Linked DNA regions of Homo sapiens: region 2 is linked to region 1. Evidence: promoter capture Hi-C in 16 types of primary human blood cells and fetal thymus (Javierre and others, 2016). All regions are on one chromosome and are shown on one strand. Each heading gives the region's core, a stretch centred on a gene start or on the middle of the fragment in contact. The rest is flanking DNA. Distances are from core to core; before and after follow the strand shown. Region 1 holds the start of WNT5A (Wnt family member 5A). Region 2 overlaps CACNA2D3 (calcium voltage-gated channel auxiliary subunit alpha2delta 3).

Region 1 (3,073 bases), core at 453-2,952:
GCTCTGGGCCGGAGCCAGATGAGCAATCATGCATCCCACTACCCAAGTCCCTACTACTCTGGGGACTTTGCAGGAGGTGAGCGCCTAACCCTATCCATCAGCCCCAGTGCTTAAGTATCCTCCCCCAGAGGTAAGAATGAGGAGGTCCCCCATGAGGTTCCATGTCAAGGCAGCAGTCTCCGTGGAGCCCCAGTGGGAGCGGTCTGGGATACGCGGGCGAGCCAAGGGGTCCAGGCGGGGAAGTTGGGGTTCAGCCTCCCGCCGGTCGGTGGCTCTGGAAGGAGCGCAGACAACCAGGCGGCAGGCAGGCAGCGGCTGCGGAGTGGACCTCTCTCTTTCAGCAGATGCCGCGGGGGATGGGGAACTTAGAGAAGGGGAGACAAGGAGAGTGTACCCCGCCTCCCGGCACCCCAGCCCGTAGTACGGCTTTAAAATCCTGCAGAGTTTGTCATAGGCCGGCCTCACCACGCATGCGCATAGCAAAGTTGAGTTTTTTCTTTCTTCCCCCCCCTTCCCTCTCTCTTTCCAGCCGCCCCTAGTTCTGAAACTTTAAAGAACTTTTTTCTTTCTTTCTTTCTTTCTTTTTTTTTTTTTCTTCCTTCTGAGAACACCAGGGGAAAGAGGAGTCTGGAGAGAGGGAGGGAGAGAGTAAGGCAGTTGGCCAGAAGGGCTGGGGGGTGGGAGGGGGGGACGCGTCCCCGCGGTCGGTCAGTCTGTTTGCGGGGCACAGGATCGCGTGGAAATCTGCTGCGAGCTCCACGGAGCCGCCTCCGCCGCCCAGAGCCGGGGTCCGTGCGGCAGCTGCCCAGCGAGCCCTTCCGCCGCCGCCGTTGTGCCCGGGACCGCCCGCCTCCCGCCGGCCCGCTCTCCCGCCCCTCGGACCCGGGCGCCAAACGAGGAGGTGGGCAGCTTCGCCGGCCATGGACCGCCGGAGCTGAGTCGCCGCCGCGGAGCTCCGAGCTCTCGCCCTTCCCCAGCCTCGCGCCCGCGGTGCACTCGCTGCTCTTCGCCCTTCGCCCTGGAAAAACGGGGAAAAGAGAGATCAACCCGAAGAGAGAAAGAACGGGATACGTGGTGGGGGGGGGGAGCCCGCGTCTCCCCTGGGTTAGTCGCACCCCTCCAGCTCACCGCACAGCAATAAGTTCCGGGGCGACTTTCACCTATTTTGCTCCCCGTTTTTGCCGAACCCTAAAATGAAAGGACACAATTTGGGGCTGACTCTTGCAGCTCAGATGGCGACTTGTGCGTTTTCAGCGGCATCTCCCGGAGAAAAAGCCATGCGCGCCTGATTGTTCTGTGGCCCCAAAGCTGCAGCGGGGGTGTGTGTGTTGGGGTGTGTGTCTGTGTGTGTACAGAGACGTCCACACTAACTCGCGGCTGCAGGATCAGCGTCTGGAAGCAGACGTTTCGGCTACAGACCCAGAGAGGAGGAGCTGGAGATCAGGAGGCGTGAGCCGCCAAGAGTTTGCAGAATCTGTGGTGTGAATGAACTGGGGGCACCTGGGCGCACAGATCGCCCCCCTTCCCCCGCCCCGGGCCACAGTTGAGTAGTGGTACATTTTTTTCACCCTCTTGTGAAGAATTTCTTTTTATTATTATTTGTCGTAAGGTCTTTTGCACAATCACGCCCACATTTGGGGTTGGAAAGCCCTAATTACCGCCGTCGCTGATGGACGTTGGAAACGGAGCGCCTCTCCGTGGAACAGTTGCCTGCGCGCCCTCGCCGGACCGGCGGCTCCCTAGTTGCGCCCCGACCAGGCCCTGCCCTTGCTGCCGGCTCGCGCGCGTCCGCGCCCCCTCCATTCCTGGGCGCATCCCAGCTCTGCCCCAACTCGGGAGTCCAGGCCCGGGCGCCAGTGCCCGCTTCAGCTCCGGTTCACTGCGCCCGCCGGACGCGCGCCGGAGGACTCCGCAGCCCTGCTCCTGACCGTCCCCCCAGGCTTAACCCGGTCGCTCCGCTCGGATTCCTCGGCTGCGCTCGCTCGGGTGGCGACTTCCTCCCCGCGCCCCCTCCCCCTCGCCATGAAGGTAGGTGTTCAGTGCGCTGCCACTTTTTTTCTTTACTTCCCCCCACCCCCTGTTGGAAGTTAACTGAGTTCCCTTCGCCTCTTCCTATCCCTCCATTTCCCCAACCGCCTGAAGAAGCTGGAACTCCAGCGTCGCTGGCAGGAACCCCTACCCCTTCGCCCTCCACGCCGGGCGCACTGCCTCAGTGTCCCAGGAGATCACTTCTGGTCGCACCACCCGTTCTGCAAACAATTTTGATTTTTGAGAAAAAGTGGGGAAGAGCGATAGTAGACAAACTGAGTGCGGTTCACTGACGACTTTCCTTTTGCTCTGAGAACATCGAGTGTAATTTACTATGTATATTTCAGTAACAGGATAATGATTCAATTCAACAAATATTTACCAAGCGCCCACTGCGCGGGCACCGGGACGGTGTGTGGCCGGGGCTCGGGATGGGGAAAGGGACTCCTTGGTTGAGAGAACCCGCAGAGGAACTAGGGGCCAACTACTCCAGAGCGGCGTACACCTTCCCCGACACCCCCCCGCACCGACGGAGGCCAGATTGTAGGCTTGCCTTGGCCGAGTAACTCGAGCGCTTCAGGCCCCTTTGCCTTTAAGAGTGCCTGGCGGGGGGCCAGCGCGCACCCCGGCGCGGGGAGCGGGGTCGCGTTATTAGCATTATTAGCCGCCACTGGGTGAGCTCAGGCACTTTGCAGCAGTGGTGGGGGCGGGGAGTTGTGGTGGTAGTGGCTGTAATCCCGTACTCCGGGACAGCGCTCCCCGGCCCCCTGAGCGGAGTCCGCCTTGTCCTTTAGAAAACACTTGGGCCTCCGCTTTGGGAGAGCAGGCGGGGGCCAGTTTGCGAACTCTTGTTTGTTTTAATTGTCAGTTGTATGTTAAAGCCGAATCACACACTCCGAGGGTCACTGAGAGTTCACTTTTACGAAAAGTTAACGTTTCTTCCTGCAACATAAGTTTTTATTTTCTAAACAATTTTTCTTATCTGTCCTCCAAGCTTCGATTCCTATTTCCATTTTTCTGGTCTTTCCCATTTTAAGTTTCTTAG
Region 2 (2,915 bases), core at 114-2,613, 650 kb after region 1:
AATTGGGTTACAGACACATGGAGACACACCATTGCACCTGCTTTTTACACAGTGTTGGGAGACAGGCAGGAACCCCTACTCTGTCCCAAACAAATAGGGAAACAGAGTCTTGGAACATGGTAGGCTTTGGCCCAAGACAAATCTGGTTCTAAATCTCAGCTCTGAATCTTTCCTAACTGCACTAGTGAAGTCTCCACATGCTCATATGAAATAATGCCCACTATTCCCCAGCACTGTTGCCATGAAGACAAAACAGAAAACTGCCCAGCATGGTACCTGGCATATGGAAGTGCTCAAAGGATGCCAGCTTCTTTTCTCTGCCTTCGAGGTCACACAGCTAGTAAGTAGCAGAGTCCAAAATGAGATTAAGGCTGGAGGCACTGCTGACAGGCACCAAAATTGACCAGGCAAGTCCTTCTGGCTTCGTAGCCTGTTCAAGCCCCAAGTGAAGCAATCCGTGAACTAGAATCCACTATCTTCAACCTAGCGTGTTTTCTGATATTTGGACACTTCTCTTCCATAGCTTTAGTTCCACAGAATAATCAGGCATTGCTCCCTCAATCTACTTGGAAAGAGGCATTATAAAGAGAAGATCCTAAAATCTAAGCGTTTGAAGCCCCCATTGACTGGCTGGTCTCTTGAGTAAAGGTCATTAAACTTAGTCTTTCTTTTGCCTTGTTCTTCTAATAGATTATTAGAGCTGTGGGGTGTCACTACTTACAATGTAGTACCCAGAACAGCAGCACCTGTAGCACCTAAGTGCTTGTTAGTCTCAGGCCCCATTCCAAACACTCTGAATGTGAATAATTATTTTAATGATTCGTATGTATATTAAAATGCAAGAAGCATTCGTATAGGGCAATCCTTTCCATTTCATTTCCACCAATAATCATGACAGCTAAAGAGAAGCTGGCAGGTGTTGGAAAAAAACTCCCAACAGGGGTGGAGGGGGCCATGCTTTTATAAGTTTTACATGGATATCAAGATAGTCCTATATCCCTCCGTGACAAGTAAAATGAAGCAAGAATCTCCTGGTCTGTCTAGGACTGGGAACTCATGGTGACATGGTTAATTTTATGTGTCAACTTGGCTAGGCCATCATGCTCAGTTGTTTGAGCAACTGCCAGTCTAGATGTTGCTGGGAAGGTGTTTTTTAGATGTGACTAACATTTTAATCAGTAGTAAAGCAGATTATTCTCCATAATGTGGGTGGGTCTCATCCAATCCATTGAAGGCCTTAAGAGAAAAGACAAGGCCCCCCTCAAAAGAAGGAATTCTGCCTGTAGACTGTCTTCAAACTCAAGACTGCAACATCAACTCTTGCTGCAATTTCCAGCATGTCAGACTGCCTGCCTTGCAGATTTCAGACTTGCCAGCCCCACAATTGTGTAACCCAATTCCTTAAACTAAATTCCTCCCCACCCTATCTGTATAGCCTATCTCTAGCTCTATAGGCTATCTCTAGAGAACCATGACTAATAATATACATGGTAATCATATAAGTGATTATTTTGGGCACCCTAATTTGGGTGAAAGAATATGTAAACAACTTTAATTCATCAATATAATAAACAAAAAATATTAACTATGAGATGATGCTGACAGTTAGTGTTGCCATGAACCAAGTCAACCAGTATATACAGTCTGTAATAGTTTTTGGAAACATGGTTCTAACATCTTGCTTAAAATACTCAAAGCATACTGTGGCCACCACTGGAAACCTGCAAGGCCATTTTCAAAGGCAGAACCAGCCCATGGTAAATAGTTCTCTTAGAATTAGAAGTCTTCCCATATTCTGACTCCTTGATTAATCGTTAATGCTATAAAGAAAACTGATTTGAGCTGATCCATAACTCCGCACAACTTCCACTTTGCAACTCAAATCAAATTTCAAGCAGTGCCAACATGTAACATGGATGAAATAAAAACATACCATTGACAATAATGAGAAATGAAGCCTTTTTCCTGCAACCAGTAAAAATCAGTTATAAATTACTAGTAATTGTCCTGGCACAAAGACAAGATTATGAGAAACTAACTTCAAAATATTAAGCCAGAATATAGTATCAACTTCACTCAGGAGCTAATTCCAAATGTAATTACTGCATCATTACTTTAAAAAAGAAACCCATAATATTGCATTTGTACTGAAACCATTCATTTGTAACCAGCCCCAGGTAAACAAAGGAAATGCATTCAGTTCAGTCTGGCAACAGTTCACATGTGGGCCAATGATCTCATGGACCTCTCCTAGGGGCAGTTCTGGCCCCAATTTGAACTGGCTTGGCCAGAACCCTAACCCGTAGGCTTTCCTATGTATACCAGTTCATCATTATGGCAACAAAGACTGGCAGGAACACAGAAATACCATTTGCAGAAAATTAAGACTCTCTTCTGCACCCACCAGCTCCATCATTCCCAGTCCCCACAGGTCTGGACTCTGTGAATCTTAAACGTTTCATGGAGAAACACATCAATTTGCAAGTTCATTTGCACTGTAAGCACTTTATGATTGAAAGGCATTCTATACTCTTGCCATAGGAAATAGCAGTCAATGGCAAGTTTTGTTTTTTTTTTCCCAGACCACCAAGCAGAAGTTATGCAGCCAACTATGGCCAGAAACCCTCTGTCCCCCAACACGTTGCTAGGGGGGTCCCTGCTTTTCTGTGGCCCCCCAACCTGTAGCTGCTACTGAGGCAAGGGTGCTGCTTATGATTCATACATGTGGCTTCCAAGAAAAATGCAGACGTAGAGTCAACATTCATTTTCCAAGGGGTAGGAGCAGGAGGTGGGGGTCACCATGGTCCATCTGGGCAAAATCCCATTAACTTAAGTCCAAGTGGGAATCTTAAAATGAACTGCTATGCAATTACACTTGCCCAGGCTTTAAGCAGGCCTCTGAAACCTGTGGTTGT

What was found. The method cuts DNA at HindIII sites, captures the fragments that hold promoters and counts their contacts. A CHiCAGO score of 5 or more calls a contact.
Region 2: a contact is called between a fragment that was not itself captured here and the fragment with the promoter of WNT5A in region 1, in 1 of 17 cell types (megakaryocytes). The highest score is 7.9, in megakaryocytes.

Annotation. Positions count from the first base shown.
Region 1 is chr3:55,485,935-55,489,007 of GRCh38, reverse strand. WNT5A (Wnt family member 5A) reads left to right here and starts at 1,702. Exons shown (of 5, transcript NM_003392.7): 1 at 1,702-2,028. The coding sequence starts at 2,023. It overlaps WNT5A-AS1 (WNT5A antisense RNA 1), which reads right to left and starts at 1,390. Exons shown (of 2, transcript NR_046656.1): 1 at 1,129-1,390; 2 at 700-1,018. RefSeq lists an enhancer at 1-78. The HindIII fragment of the contact is 5,010 bases long and covers 1-3,024 here.
Region 2 is chr3:54,833,253-54,836,167 of GRCh38, reverse strand. The region is part of intron 14 of CACNA2D3 (calcium voltage-gated channel auxiliary subunit alpha2delta 3); the gene reads right to left. Among named protein-coding and RNA genes, the nearest start is that of CACNA2D3-AS1, 67 kb to the left of the region's middle. The HindIII fragment of the contact is 6,803 bases long and covers 1-2,915 here.